Linked DNA regions of Homo sapiens: regions 1 and 2 are each linked to region 3. Evidence: promoter capture Hi-C in 16 types of primary human blood cells and fetal thymus (Javierre and others, 2016). All regions are on one chromosome and are shown on one strand. The core of a region is centred on a gene start or on the middle of the fragment in contact, and the rest is flanking DNA. Distances in the headings are between cores, read along the strand shown. Region 1 overlaps MIRLET7IHG (MIRLET7I host gene). Region 2 overlaps USP15 (ubiquitin specific peptidase 15). Region 3 holds the start of RASSF3 (Ras association domain family member 3).

The links. The method cuts DNA at HindIII sites, captures the fragments that hold promoters and counts their contacts. A CHiCAGO score of 5 or more calls a contact.
Region 1: a fragment that was not itself captured here is called in contact with the fragment with the promoter of RASSF3 in region 3 in 1 of 17 cell types (total CD4 T cells); the score reaches 5.4 in total CD4 T cells.
Region 2: a contact is called between a fragment that was not itself captured here and the fragment with the promoter of RASSF3 in region 3, in 1 of 17 cell types (activated CD4 T cells). The highest score is 5.6, in activated CD4 T cells.

Annotation. Positions count from the first base shown.
Region 1 is chr12:62,607,523-62,612,166 of GRCh38, reverse strand. The region is part of intron 1 of MIRLET7IHG (MIRLET7I host gene); the gene reads right to left. Among named protein-coding and RNA genes, the nearest start is that of MIRLET7I, 6.2 kb to the right of the region's middle. The HindIII fragment of the contact is 1,819 bases long and covers 2,198-4,016 here.
Region 2 is chr12:62,302,543-62,307,297 of GRCh38, reverse strand. It overlaps USP15 (ubiquitin specific peptidase 15), which reads right to left. Exons shown (of 22, transcript NM_001252078.2): 3 at 4,378-4,508. Among named protein-coding and RNA genes, the nearest start is that of USP15, 45 kb to the right of the region's middle. The HindIII fragment of the contact is 816 bases long and covers 910-1,725 here.
Region 3 is chr12:64,607,379-64,612,178 of GRCh38, reverse strand. RASSF3 (Ras association domain family member 3) reads right to left here and starts at 1,684. Exons shown (of 5, transcript NM_178169.4): 1 at 1,436-1,684. The coding sequence starts at 1,546. It overlaps RASSF3-DT (RASSF3 divergent transcript), which reads left to right and starts at 2,713. Exons shown (of 2, transcript NR_187549.1): 1 at 2,713-2,834. RefSeq lists silencers at 1,155-1,224, 1,435-1,954, 2,115-2,184 and enhancers at 2,815-2,874, 3,095-3,144. The HindIII fragment of the contact is 11,544 bases long and covers 1-4,800 here.

The DNA.
Region 1 (4,644 bases), core at 1,858-4,357, 2.0 Mb after region 3:
AAGTTCAACGTCTAACTAATGAGTCCAGATAGTGATTCACTACGTATATACAGGATAAGATATATGAAGTTAAAAAGTCACTAGGATATATACTTCAAAATAAAAGCTATTTAATAGTGATAATATTGGTAAATTTGAAAGAACTCTCTTGGCCAAGTGTGGTGGCTAACGCCTGTAATCCTAGCACTTTAGGAGGCTGAGGCAGGAGGATCACTTGAGCCCAGGAGCTCAAGACCAGCGTGGGCAACAAAGTGAGACCCTGCCTCTATTTATTTTTAAACAAGAAAAGAAAAAAAAGTATCTTATATTTGTAATAATGCTTCAATGTGTTTATTCCTTCAACCTTATATATATATATATTTTAGATAGAGTCTCACTCTGTCACCCAGGCTGAAGTGCAGTGGCACGATCTCAGCTCACTGCAACCTCCACCTCTGGGGTTTAAGCGATTCTCCTGCCTCAGCCTCCCCAGTAGCTGGGACTACAGGCATGCACCATCATGCCCGGCTAATTTTTTGTATTTTTAGTAGAGACCAGGTTTCACCATGTTGGCCAGGCTGCTCTCGAATTCCTGACCTCAAGTAATCCACCTGCCTCGGCCTCTCAAAGTGCTGGGATTACAGGCGTGAGCCACCGCGCCCGGCCTCCTTCAACCTTATTTATATATGTGTGTGTATGCCTGGCATTTGTGGTACACATTCAAAAACATGATAATTTCTGTGCTTAGTAAAATGCAAAATCATTGTTTCTTTTGATCCACAGGTTGGTTATATTTTTTTACCTTTGTAGTGTGCTAATATATTCAAAGCAGTAACAGCACTCAGTTAAATATTTAAATTAGATTAATAACACTGGTAATATGTAGATGCACAATGAACTAACTGCTAAGTGTTAACATATATTGATGGGGGCTGGGCGCGGTGGCTCACACCTATAATCCCAGCACTTTGGGAGACGGAGGTGGGCGATCAATTGAGCCCTGTAGTTTTGAGACCAGCCTGGGCAACATGGCAAAACCCTGTCTCTACAAAAAATACAAAAATTAGCCAGGGGTGGTGGCGTGTGCCTGTAGTCTTAGCTACTCAGGAGGCTGAGGTGGAAAGATCGCTTGAGCCTGGGAGTTGAAGGTTGCAGTGAGCTGTGACCACGCCACTGCACTCCAGCCTGGATGACAGTGAGACCCTGTCTAAACACACACACACACACACACACACACACACACACACACAAAGAAGGTTAAGAAAAAAGGAATCTAACTGGAAACAAAAAATCGAATAAATTGCTAGAACAATTATTAGAGTTCCATTTAAAAGGACAAACATTCTATCATTTGCAACGACATGTTTAAACTTGGAGGACATTACACTAAATAAGCCAGGCATAGAAAGACAAATACTACATGATCTCATTTATATGTGGAATATAAAAAAGTCAAACTCAGAGAAGCAGAAAGGAGAGAATAGTGTTACCAGGGGCTTATAGACAGAGGGGGTAAGGTACTGGGGAGATGTTGGCTAAAGGGTACAAAGTTTCAGTTAGACAGGAGGAATAACAAAATAAAAGAGGAAAAACAGAACTAAGCTTATTGAAAGCAGTTAAAGCCAAACAAATTTTTTTAGTGAGCTGATTTTGCTTAGAGTACTTGTTTAAGAATGTGAAATAAGGCATACTTCTAGAAAAAGACTATGGAACTAGAAAAATAATATTTAAAATGGAAAGTTATTAAGTTTAATAGGCTAACATTAAAGCAAGTACTTTATACATACAAAGTACTTAGTAAAAGTTCTCAACACATCTCTTATTAATTCTAATTACTAGTTTTAATTATAATAGATATATTTAAACAATGGTATCCTTGTTGTGGGTATGTGTGAACTTGCACTATATTAGTCAATATATTTGATCTGGAGTATAAGGAAAATGGACTGATCCTCTGATAGACTTCAAGGTAGTATTTCAAAGTGGCCTGGGAGGATACCCTAAGAACACTTAGCTGCACCTTACTGACCTTCACATGGTTTTGTATGTGTTCTCACTTTGCTTTGGTTGTCTCCAAACCACAGGAATCTTTCTTTGTCTTGTTTTACGTGTTTTTGAGTTTTTATTATGGAACATTCTAAATATACACAAAAGTAGAACAGAATAAAAAAACCCATCTACCCATCACCCATCATCAATACCAACACTAAGACAAGCTTCTTTCCTGTGTACTCCCATATATGCTTCCCATCCCCCATGGATTAAAGTATGAAGCAAAGTCCGATCATATCATTCATTAGTAAATTATTTAGTATGCATATACCAAAAGATTTTTAAAAACTATAACCACAATACCATTTTCAAAAACAATTCTTTAACTTCTAATATTCAGTCAGTTTTAAAATTTCTCCAATTGTCTCATAAATGTGTTTGTGGTTAGCTTTGATCAAATTAGGATCCAAACAAGGTCTATACATTGCAATTAAACCGATAAATATCTTTAAATTCATTTTACTCTACAGGTTTTCCTGCCCTTCTTTCCTTAAAAATTTTTTTTCCTTAGATCATTTGTCTTATAGAATTTCAGTGTGGATTTTTGCTACTTGTGCTCCTGTGGTGATTTAACAATGTTCCCCTATATCTTAAATTTCTAATAAACTACTCATCAGATCTAGAAACTTGATGAGAGTCTAGAGTCTTAGTAAACCACTATCTAGTTCAATTATTTGAACTAGAATATCTAGTTATCTGTTTTTGTAATATTAAAATTGATCAGTGAGTTGAAGTGCGGTTGCCCTGATCCATGAATTAAATACTTCTCTACTACTGATTCATTAATCACATACTTCTCCATCAGCATTTTACTTAATGGTTTCAACCATTAAGTTAGCCATTGAAGAGGTCTAGCTTTATTTCATGAGCTGTTGTAAATGTTAACATTCTATCAGACGTTCTGCACTGTGAAACTGGAATTATTCTGTAATGAGGAAATCTCCCTCACAACCATTTAGTTACCCCGAGGTATAAATTATATAAGGAAGGTAGGATACTTCTTTCTTTCCTGTTCTCAGGCACCACAAGGCTCATAATCGCTCTCCATAGCTTATACTGTTAAAATAATCTGACGTTTCTGCTCCAGAGAGATGCATTCTCTACCTACTCACAGTGCACTCCTGCTTCTTTGAACTTTTACCATGTTTAGAGTGTACATCATAAAATGTGATGTCTGGCTATGGGGTCTAGATTCCTCCACAAGGTAGTTGGGCACTTGCTACAACATTGTAAGCTCTTAAAGGTGAAGTACCTCCTGCAGTGTTATCCTGTTTAGGAGATAGAAAACAGCCCTGGCTGACCAGGCGCGGTGGCTCTTGCCTGTAATACCAGCACTTTGGGAGGCCAAGGTGGGCGGATCATGAGGTCAGCAGTTCGAGACCAGCCTGGCCAACACGGTGAAACCTCATCTCTACTAAAAATACAAACATTAGCTGGGCGTGGTGGCGGGCGCCTGTAATCCCAGCTACTTAGGAGGCTGAGGCAGGAGAATTGCTTGAACCTGGGAGGTGGAGGTTGCAGTGAGCCGAGATCGTGCCATTGTACTCCAGCCTGGGCAACAAGAGCAAGATTCCGTCTCAAAAAAAAAAAAAGAAAGAAAGAAAACAGCCCTGGTGAAACTAAATTATCATCTTTTTTTAAAAAAAATAGGTACAATTATAACAAAAATCAATGGGAAATGGCTTTTTTAAAACATACAACTGGAATATCAATAGTGGTTTTGGAGCAAGGGCTCTAGAACAGGTGTATGAGTGGAACTCAGGTTTGAAAACAACTCAGGTGGCCCATGGATTGTCCTCACTACATGTCTGTAATTATTATTATAGGGAAATGTATTCCTTTTACAATGTGAATTCCATAATGTGGAGTTGGTTTTTTTGTGTTTGTTTTTGTTTTATCTTCTGTATATTCCCAGCACCTGACATAGAGCAGGTATCCGATTCACCTGTTGAATTTATCTGGAACTTATTTATTCTGTATAAGCTTCATTCACTACAAAAAGAAATGAATGGCAGATAGGATTCTTATTCTTAGGTTTTTCGTCCGAACTCTTAAAAAGTATGTAAATTTGTTTTTAAAACAGAAAAATATACTTTAATTTGCTTATGTATCTGTTTTTAGAGTTTAGTCAACTCTTTCGGCCATCTATTACGGTAACATTAAGTCAGTGTTACTATTATGACTAAAACTAGCCCATGCCTGTATCTACATAATACTTCTGTTTAACAAGGGCTTTAAAATACACTATGTGCAGAATATTAAAACAGCAATCTCTGAATCTTAATACCTTTTTGGTAGTTATGTTCAAAGTGAGATAAAACACCCGTTAATTGTTTATTACTCAACCTAAGAGCAGTTAAGGGATTTTTCAGGTATAACAGAAAACACATTACAACTACATATATGATCTAAACTGTCAATGTCTGTGGACAGTTTTTAGTCCTTAATTTACTTGAATTTTCTGTGACATATCACACAGCTTGGCTTTCTGCGAACTCCTGACTTCCATGATAAAATACTCTCAATTATATTATAATGGAACTAACGGAATTTGTAAACCTGATTCGAAGAAAATAATATTTTCTGTAAGTGTTGTTTGATGTTGAATAAGAG
Region 2 (4,755 bases), core at 68-2,567, 2.3 Mb after region 3:
TTCTCTGAGTCATCCTTTTTTCATGCATTAGCACATGCTTGAAGTTAAGTAAATTTTCAGCCTGATTCCTACTTATTGGAGTTTGGGAGGTCAAAGGCGTCTTTCATTTAATACTGCTTCTGCAGTCCAAAATGGCAGTGGTTCTGCGAGGTAATTCGAAAACAATGTAGGTCTCCACTGGATCTTACTGGAGTTCATTCCATTAGACAAAAGCCATATCCACAAATGTTCTGTAGGATAAGTCCTCTCTACTTTGGCTTTATGCTGAGAAAGCTAAGGGGTTGCCCGTAAGCTTCTTGAAGCCCTCCTGTTCTTAGAAGCCACATATTGAGAAGACACCCTTAATATTAATTAATATTACTACTGACAGGACAACCTCTAAGTTAACCCTTAAATACTTTATAGGGCCTTTTGTCTGAATAGTACTGTGAGGCATGACCTTTGATTTTTCTGAGGTAACTTACAGTCACACCCTTGGCTGCCAGATTAGATCACACTTTTTTTCTGAGAATACTCTGAGTTTTATCTTTGCTCAGAAACACTGCTTAGTATTAGCACCGTTTGCCATCTGGAGGGACTAGGAATCTTCAAAACTAGTAAATATTGGCTCTGTTTTATTGAACAATCCTTTCTTTAGTGTATTTCTCTTCTCTCACATCTGACTATAACCAACACAAAAAGAAACTAGGCAGTACTTTTAACACTTTGGCAGACCTATAATTTCATTAAATACTATCTTTAACCTTTCAGTTTACTGCAGGCAACATGTTGCTAAACTTACTCTACCACTGTATAACAAAGACCACTTTCTACCAGTTTCCAGTAAGACTTTCCTCACTTCAAGTTCTCACTGGCAGCTATCTCAAAGTCTAGTAATCTACTAACGGTTTGTTTAAGGCCCTTTAAGCTTTCATTGATACTCTTAAAGTTCTGACAACCTCTATTCACTGTCAGCTCCAAAGCCACGCCACATTTCAAGTTTTCATATCAGCACCTATTTACAGGTACCATGATTAGTATTAGTTATCTATTGCTGCATAATAAATTACCCCAAAATTTACCAGCTTAACACAGCAAACATTATCTCACAATGTTTCTGAGGGTCAAGAATCTGGGAGCAGCTTAACTGGGTTGATTTGGTGTAGAGTTTCTCATGAGGTTGCTCTCAAGGTATGGCTGGGGTTTCAATCATCTGAAAGCTAAACTAGAACTAAAGGATCCACTTCCAAGGTCACTCACATGGTTGTTGCAGGCCTCCGTTCCTCTCTATTGGCCAGAGATCTCAGTTCCTCACCATGTGGGCCTCTCCATAGGCTGCCTGAGTGTCCTCGCCATATGCAGTTGAATTCCCCGAGTGAGAAATGAGAAAGAGAGACAGCTAGAGTGCGTGTGCACCCAAGATGTAAGCCGCGGTGTTTTTTTATAACCTAATCTCGAAAGCGATGTACCATGAGTACTGCTATATGCTATTGGCCACACAGACCAACCTCAGTACAACATGGAAGAAGAGTGCCCAAGAATATGGATATGAGGAGCTGGGGATCACCAGGGAACATAGTAGAGAATATTATCTTAACTTACATGCTAACACTATTGTGTAGTTAATTCTATACACATTTTCAACTCCATAAAAATTATTATTAATGTTTTCAACAGTCCATCTTAAGACTTACTCACAACATTTACATTTTGTCAGTCTACACTGTTTTCCTGCATCTCCAAGCTTTCATCTGGAATAATTTTCCTTCCATTCTTAAGATTATTTTGTAGTGCCTTTAATACACGTCTGCAGGTAACAAATTCTATTAGTTTTCATTTGAAAATGGCTTTTTTCACCTTCATCCCTGAAGGATTATTTTCTTAGTCACAGAATCCTACATTGGCAGTTATTTTCTTTTAACATATCAAAGTCCATTGTTTTCTGGCTTCCATGGTTTCTCTTGAGAAATCATTATTTTGTCTTATCCTTATTTTGAAGATAACATGTCTTTTTCTCTGGCTATTATTAGAAATTTTTTTGCCTTTGCTTTTCAACATTTGTACTAGGTACAGTTTTGTTTGTATTATTTCAGTTTGGGATTCATAGCATTTCTTTAAAGCATGACACCTTTCTCAGTTTGGGAAAATTCTCAGCTATTACGTCCTTTGGTATTAGTTCTACCCACTCTTTCTTTCCTCTCCAAGATTCCAACTATATGTATGCATGTTAAACTTACTTACTGCATTCCATTTATGCCTTAGCTTTTTTCTGTATTTTCTATTCTTTTGTCTCTCTAAGCTTTAGACTCTATATTTTCTATTGACAAATCATTTAGTTTACAAATTTTCTCTTCAGTTCTGTTTGGTCTAATAATTTTATTCCCAAACATTAAATCCATAAAATTTCCATATTATTAGTTTTAGAATTCTATTTGCTTCTTCTTTAATAGTTTTGCCCTACTTCTCATCTGCCTTTTTTTTTTTTTTTAAGCATAATAAGCCCACTATTCTAAAATCTACTAACTCAATTACCTGGGTTTCTTATGGGTCTGTTTCTATTGTCTGCTGTTTCTCTTGGATTTTGATTCCATCGTATTTTCTGCTTATATCCTTGCTTTCTTTTCGTCCATTCTTTGAGTGTTGACACTATAAATGACGCATTTTAGAGATCTTTGAGGTACAGGAAGATGTTTAACTTGGTTTCTGCATTATAGCTAGGGGAACCACCAATCCTAGATTCTTTAATGCAATCAGAGATGGGTAACATTGAAAGTTGGGCTTCAGACACTATAAGCTGGTCTATTTACTTCTTTGAGTTCCACCTGCATCAGTCATGTGGGCCACAGTGAAAATGCAAATGAAATTCCCAAATTTAAGTGTGATTAATTAAATTTTACTGCAGATTTAATGTTGTAGGAAATTGCATCTGTAATAAGAACTCCACGCAATGTAATATAGCACATGAACATTTGCAAACTATTTTACAGGTTGAATATATTTCATTCATCTTGTTAAAAATAAGTATGTGGTCTCCCAAGAGATTTGTCAATGTTTTTTCTTCTACTTGTGTGAAATTTTTGATTATATTTTACTTTGTTATTAGACACAGGTTTCAAGAACTCTCAATGAGGACTATTTCAAAGAGTAATGGCAATGAAATTGGTAGTTGATCTGTTTATCATACTGAAGACCGCTAGTGTATAATGTGCTACATTTATAAGAAAAAAAAGTGTATCATTAAGATTAAAGGAATACAGTGTAATACCTTTAGAGATATTTTGGACACAAATTTTCCTTTATCCTAGGAATGAAATAATTCTAGACAGTTTTACAGCTAAATAGGCTACCTTTGATCAAAACACTCAATTCTCCAGCAACTATAGATAAAGCAACTAGATCATTTCACAGATCTATAAGGCTAGCATTCCTACAACAGAGAAATTCTAATTTTGAAGTGGCTGAGTGAAACTAAGGAATAAAACTAAACAAAAATAAATAAAAGGTACATTCAAGATCTATTCAGAAAATAAGATCCAAGGTTAGCTTCTAATATACCTAAAACCATGGATACACAAATACAAATTGTTAACATGGCAACTTTGTAGCATCAATTCCAAATAAATTCAAATATAGTTAGGTCTACTAGAGGTTTTTTTACCCTTATGTTACCTAATCCAACTTTTTAATTGTTTCTATGTGGCGGGGGATGGGGGGAGGGTCGGGGGACCCAAACCAGATACAAAATTATGCCAAGAGATTTTGGTCCCTTCTCAGCCTCCCACCCCTCCTACAATAAATGATCAAATACATGTGTAAGGTTCACTCATTTACCTTGAATATTTGGTATTCTACTACAGCAACACCCTTACTTATTGCTTTTTAGTTCCCTAAAAAAACGAAATTGGTTATTCTTAATGTTTCTAGACTACAATTTTAAAATGTTAAAGGATATGAAAAAAAATCTACATTTTCAAGTTTAAAAAATTTTTATGTTCCAAAAAACATTGCTTCAACTTTTAGTTTCTTCATTGTTTTCTAATTGTTTTATCAAAAACAGTGCAGCACAGAAAACAGGGTCAGGTTGCCAAAGTCTGTATCCTGATATGACTTTCTAAAATAACTAGATCCTAACTTTTTATCCTCATTTCCTACTACTTACCTTACAGAGTTTTCTCTCTATATATAGAGGATTAATCAATAATACATACTTACAATAGTGGCTAGCATAAGTAAACCTTCTTAACATGTTACTTGCCATTATTGTAACACAGTGTACGGTTATTTTGCTGGCTTTTTCTCTAAGATAAGTGATGAAACTTCACAATTCATTGAATTAATAATAAAATGTGAACTAATCAAGAAAAATAATATTTATAGTCAGTTATTATTAAAATGTACCTTTCGTGCTATTGGCTCTTGACCTTCCATCAATGTGTACCAGCTGACAAGTTTATTCCAACCTTCAGTTGGCAACAGTATGTAATCCAATTCATCAATAAGGTGTTCCTTAAGTGACTGGGCATCACCATCTGCAAAAGAAAAAATAAACTCAATACCTAACTCTAAATACTTTGTTTGGACACATTACAAATTAAACTCATGAAGGCTAATTTAAGTATTTAAAACAAGTTTTAAGCTCTAAAGCAATTCAGCTCCCTTACATCAGGGGTGTCCAATTTTTGGGTTTCTCTGGGCCGTATTGGAAGAATTGTAACACTAACAATAGTTGATGAGCTTAAAAAAATCATAAAAAAAAACTCATAATGTTTTAAGAAA
Region 3 (4,800 bases), core at 435-2,934:
GCAAATGCAATTTTTCTACAACCCAGGGAGGGTGGGCATGGGGGAGGAGAGGGCGTTTCCAACTTCCAAACTTCACAGCAATCTCATGCTCTCAGAACACACTCTGCTGAAAGTAAGAGATCCCACTCAAAGTGACTCGTAAATAGTGGGGCCTTAAGCCTTAGAAACAATACAAGACGGACAACTATGGCACCGGGACTTGAGATTAACTGCGGTTACTGAATAAGGGCACTTGACTTCAGCTTACCCTTCACCGTCTCCTCTCCTCCTCCTGGTTTGGGACTTAAGAGCCTGAAAAGACTAGAACTTCCGAATTTTAGAAAGAATTTTACTTCAGAAAGTGGCTAAACTTAAGAGGTCTGGCAAGACCACCCTGACAGATTGCACCCTCCCACATCCACCAAAAGAAGTTATCATCCGGCCCCTGAACGATTCTTCTTGCTTCTAGTCTCTAGGTCTCAGTCCGGTATTAATAGAAATGTTTGGCGAACGCCTGTTTTCTAAAAGCAACAAATTTGTGCCATTACAATCTTCTGTAATCTGATGTGAGCGTGGCCGGGTTGGCCCGGCTCCCCTGGTGCGGCTCCTAGTGCCAGGAGGCCGCGGGCTCTAGCACCGGGCTCCTCAGTCCAGCCGACGTGCCCCGTTTCGGGAAGGCCTCCCAAAAAACACGGCTACAGCTGGCGAAACTGGCACAAGTTCCCTTCCCATCTTTTCCCAACTCGTGCTTCCCACGGCATGCTGCCTCCAAAAAAGGAAGAAACCGGCGAAAAGGTTAGCTGTCGCTGGCTAGTATTTAGCATAGGAGCTTGTTTGCAAAACATCTGGGCACCAAAAAACCTAGCTTTACAGAAAACGCACAACCCTGAGTCCCGCAACGGAGATTTAGTGAGAGCCTATGGTGGCGAGGCCCACGGTGCCCTTGGACCCCCACTCCACCAGGTCGCCCGGGCCAGGAAGAGGGGAGGTCAGGTCACCCGGCCACCCCTAGCTATTACACGTTGACCCAAGCCACTCTGGGGGCCACAGATGAGTAAGCTGACTAACAGGAAGGACAGGCGCGCGAACCCGACCGTCGACCCAGCGGGGACGCGAAGGGGAAACCTGGGGGAGTGGCCCGGGGACGCCTGCTGGCTCCGGGGCTGCTCCCCGCAGGCGGCAGCCCGAGGCGGAGCTGCAGAGGCCATCTGGCGCGGAAGGCAGAAGCCGGCCCTCAGCCTCCCCGCCCTTCCTCCGCCTTCCCTCGCCTACACGCACAAGCTCCAGGCACGTTCCCGGGACCCGAAAAGGCAGAAGCCACTTCTCGGCCCGCTCCTCCTTCCCGGCGAGCATCCCCCGAGCGCCCCGCAGAGACACGTGGAGGCAGGGGGCGCGGGCTGGCGGGTTCCCCGGAACTCTGGGGCGCGGGCTGCAGCGCCCGCCGCGCGCCACTCACTTGTTGGCCGGAGCGGGGCTTGCCCTGGGGCGCTCTCCTGAAGAAGGAGGTCCTGGCGGTGAAGAAGAAGTCCTCGGCGTCCTCCTCCAGGCTGCTGTAGCCGCTGCTCATGCTGCCGGTCCCGTCGCGCGCGGGCGGCCTCCCCGGGGCGCAGGCGGCCAGGGAGGGGGTGCGGCGCCCGCCAGCCCCGCGAGGTTCCCGGCGCGCAGCCCCGGGCAGTCCTTATGCAGCTGCGGCCGCCGCTCAATCAGGCTCTCCCGGCCCCTCCTGCCGCCTCCCCGCCAGGCTCCAGGCGCGGCTCGGCCCCGGTGCGCCCGCGACCCCGCCTCCCTGGGCCCCGCCCCGGACGGGCGACCGGCCGAGCCCCACCCCGCGCGGCCGCGACCCTCCCCGCCCGCCCGCAGGTGGGGGGAGCCCGGCCCGCCCCTTCCAGGCGCGCGGGTTTCTCCCGACAGCGTCGCGGAACCCGGAAAGCCGGGCGCTAGGGCTGCGTCTGCTGGGGCTGTGCTCGGGTCGCTTCCTCAACCTCCCGGAAACTGCAAATTCCTCTGCGAGCCGTCCGCCCGCCCCCAGCCTCGCTGGCTCGAGTTTCGGAGAGGGCGGGAGCAGAGCGGGGAACTTTCTCTGCGTCCACTCCCTGCTCGCCCCCGCACCAGGGTCCTGTAGGGGTGGGTGGGGGTTGCCCGGCCGAGGGACCCCCCAGGTCCCACGGCTTCCTGCAGCCGCAACGCCCAGTCCTGAACCCCAGCAGCTCGCCCCTCCAGGAGGATTTCAAGTTGGCAGAGATGGGTGGGGAGGTCAAAAACTGGGTTGAGTTTATTCGAATGAAAACATCCTTTCTGGTCATTCATTTGAGCTTCGGTCTTACCCTTTTCCCCTTCTTTCTAGCGAGGGCTCACTTCCAAATAAGATCGTTATCTTAGGCGCACTCAGTGCAACTGAAAGGTGAACTAGTTCTATAGTTACAGAACAATCGAGTGCTTATCAATTAAATGTGCTTTGTAAATGTCCCCGCCACAATCAGCCTTCCACGGTCACCCACAAGGCATGGTTTAAGTGGTGGGGATAAGGAGATCAGGGAATTCCATCCATCCACGTACAAAAAAAGTTTCCATGTTTTCTAAAACTCTTCAGTCAGCTAATCCTCTTAAAGCCACCAGTGGGTAACAGTCTTTTACACCTTGGTGTTACTGCACTGATTTAAATAATACTAATTTCAAGATCTTGACTGAAAGGTTTTTTTGAAGCTGCAAGCCCTGCTATAGTTAGCGAGCTTCAGAAGAGGTTTCATTAGGAGGGGAAGAGAGACGTTAGAAAAGAGAAAATGTCCATCCATCATAGCCAAACTAGCCAAACTCTCTTACATTATCTCCTTCAATCCTCCGAGCAACTCTGCAAGGTACGTAGTGCTATTTTATGCCGGTTTTACACCTAGAGCAGCAGCTGAGGCTTAAAGAAAGGAAAGTGGCTGTAGGAGGCAGTACTCGGACCGTTCTGCTTTGCGTTCTGTTGATCTGAACGTGGTCACATACCCTACTGGGTTCTCTGCTTGGTATCGGTCAGCCGTGCTCTTTTGTGGACTACAGGAGGAAGAGTTGGACCCGAAATGACGGGAAGGAGAGAAGAATTGACTCATGAGTCATCCTACTGTCCCTAGGCTGAAAGAAGGCTTGCAAACCTGCTCCACCTTCGGGCTTACACATCCATCTTGTAAACTAGTATATATTACCCCACGTGATTCACAACAACTCCAGAAGGAGGGCCTTTGAGTTACAGCCCATTTTAAAGGTCCTACAACATTAAAGTCTTCTTCTCGGCCACACAGCTACTGAATGATAGGAAGCCAGGAATTCTAACTCCATATAGTTTCACCCAGCTTAAGCTGATCCGTGTGTGTGCCATGCACATAATCTAATGTAGGAGAATAGGGCTTTATGACAAATTTTTCTTATTTGGTTTCTCTTATTTCATTATTCAGATATAATATTAGCGCAGCTCTTATTAAATATTCCAAGGTAAGAATAATGTGTAGGTTAAGGGCTTAAATTACTCATTTTATTGTGGGTAGAAAGGGGAAAATAATTTTACCTAGAACAAGTTGAAGTTTATGAATACTTTGAGGAAAAATGCATTAAAATGCTTTATTGGCCGGGCGCGATGGCTCACGCCTGAGGAGGCAGAGGCGGGTGGATCACTTGAGGTCAGGAGTTGGAAACCAGCCTGGCCAACGTGGTGAAACCCCGCCTCTACTAAAACTACAAAAATTAGTTGGGCGTGGTAGCGTGCGCCAGCTACTCGGGAGGCTGAGGCAGGAGAATCGCTTGAACCCGGAGTGGCCTAGGTTGCAGTGACCCGAGGTGGCGCCATTGCACTCCAGTCTGGGCGACAAGAGCAAAACTTCGTCTCAATAAATAAATAAATAAACTTTATGATGCACCACACCATAAAAATGATTTTTTTCATTGTATTATTTTTAAGCTCCAAAGGACTGGATTAATTTGTATATCTGTCAGCATACCATCAGAATCAGTTATAATAAAAAGGCATGATTGAGTGGGGCACAGGGGGAAGCTGAGGTGGAGGATCACTTGAACTCAGGAGTTCCTATCCAGCCTGACCAACATAGTGAGACCTTTTCTCTAAAAAAAAATGATTTTTTTATAAAGGCATGATTAGGCCAGGCATGGTGGTTTACGCCTGTAATCCCAGCACTTTGGAAGGCCGAGGTGGGAGGATTGCTTGAAGCCAGGAGTTCAAGACCAGCCTGGGCAACAAAATGAGACCCTGTCTCTACAAAAACAAAAACAAAAAACAAAAAAAAATTAGCCAATGTGGTGTCACATGCTAGTGGTCCCAGCTACTCAGGAGGCTAGGTGGAAGGATCACTTGAGCCCAGAAGTTTGAGGCTGTAATGAACTATGATCTTACCACTGCACTCTAGCCTGGGTAACAGAGTAAGAGTCTGTCTCTTAAAAAAATAAATAAATAAAATAATTTTAAAAGCCATGATCAAATAATGAAATGGAAGCACTGCTTTTAAGCAACAAAAAAAACATAAATAAAGGAAAGGGCCGAGTGAGGTGGCTCACGCCTGTAATGCCAGCATTTTGGGAGGCTGAGGCCGGCAGATCACTTGAGGTCAGGAGTTCAAGACCAGCCTGACCAACATGGTGAAACCCCCATCTCTACTGAAAATATATAAAAAAATTAGCTGGGCATGATGGCACATGCCTGTTGTCCCAGCTATTCGGGAGGCTGAGGCAGGAGAGTCACCTGAGCCCTGGAGGCAGAGGTTGCAGTGAGCCAAGATCACGCCACTGCACTCTATCCTGGGCGACACAGGGAGACTCTGCCTCAGAAAATAA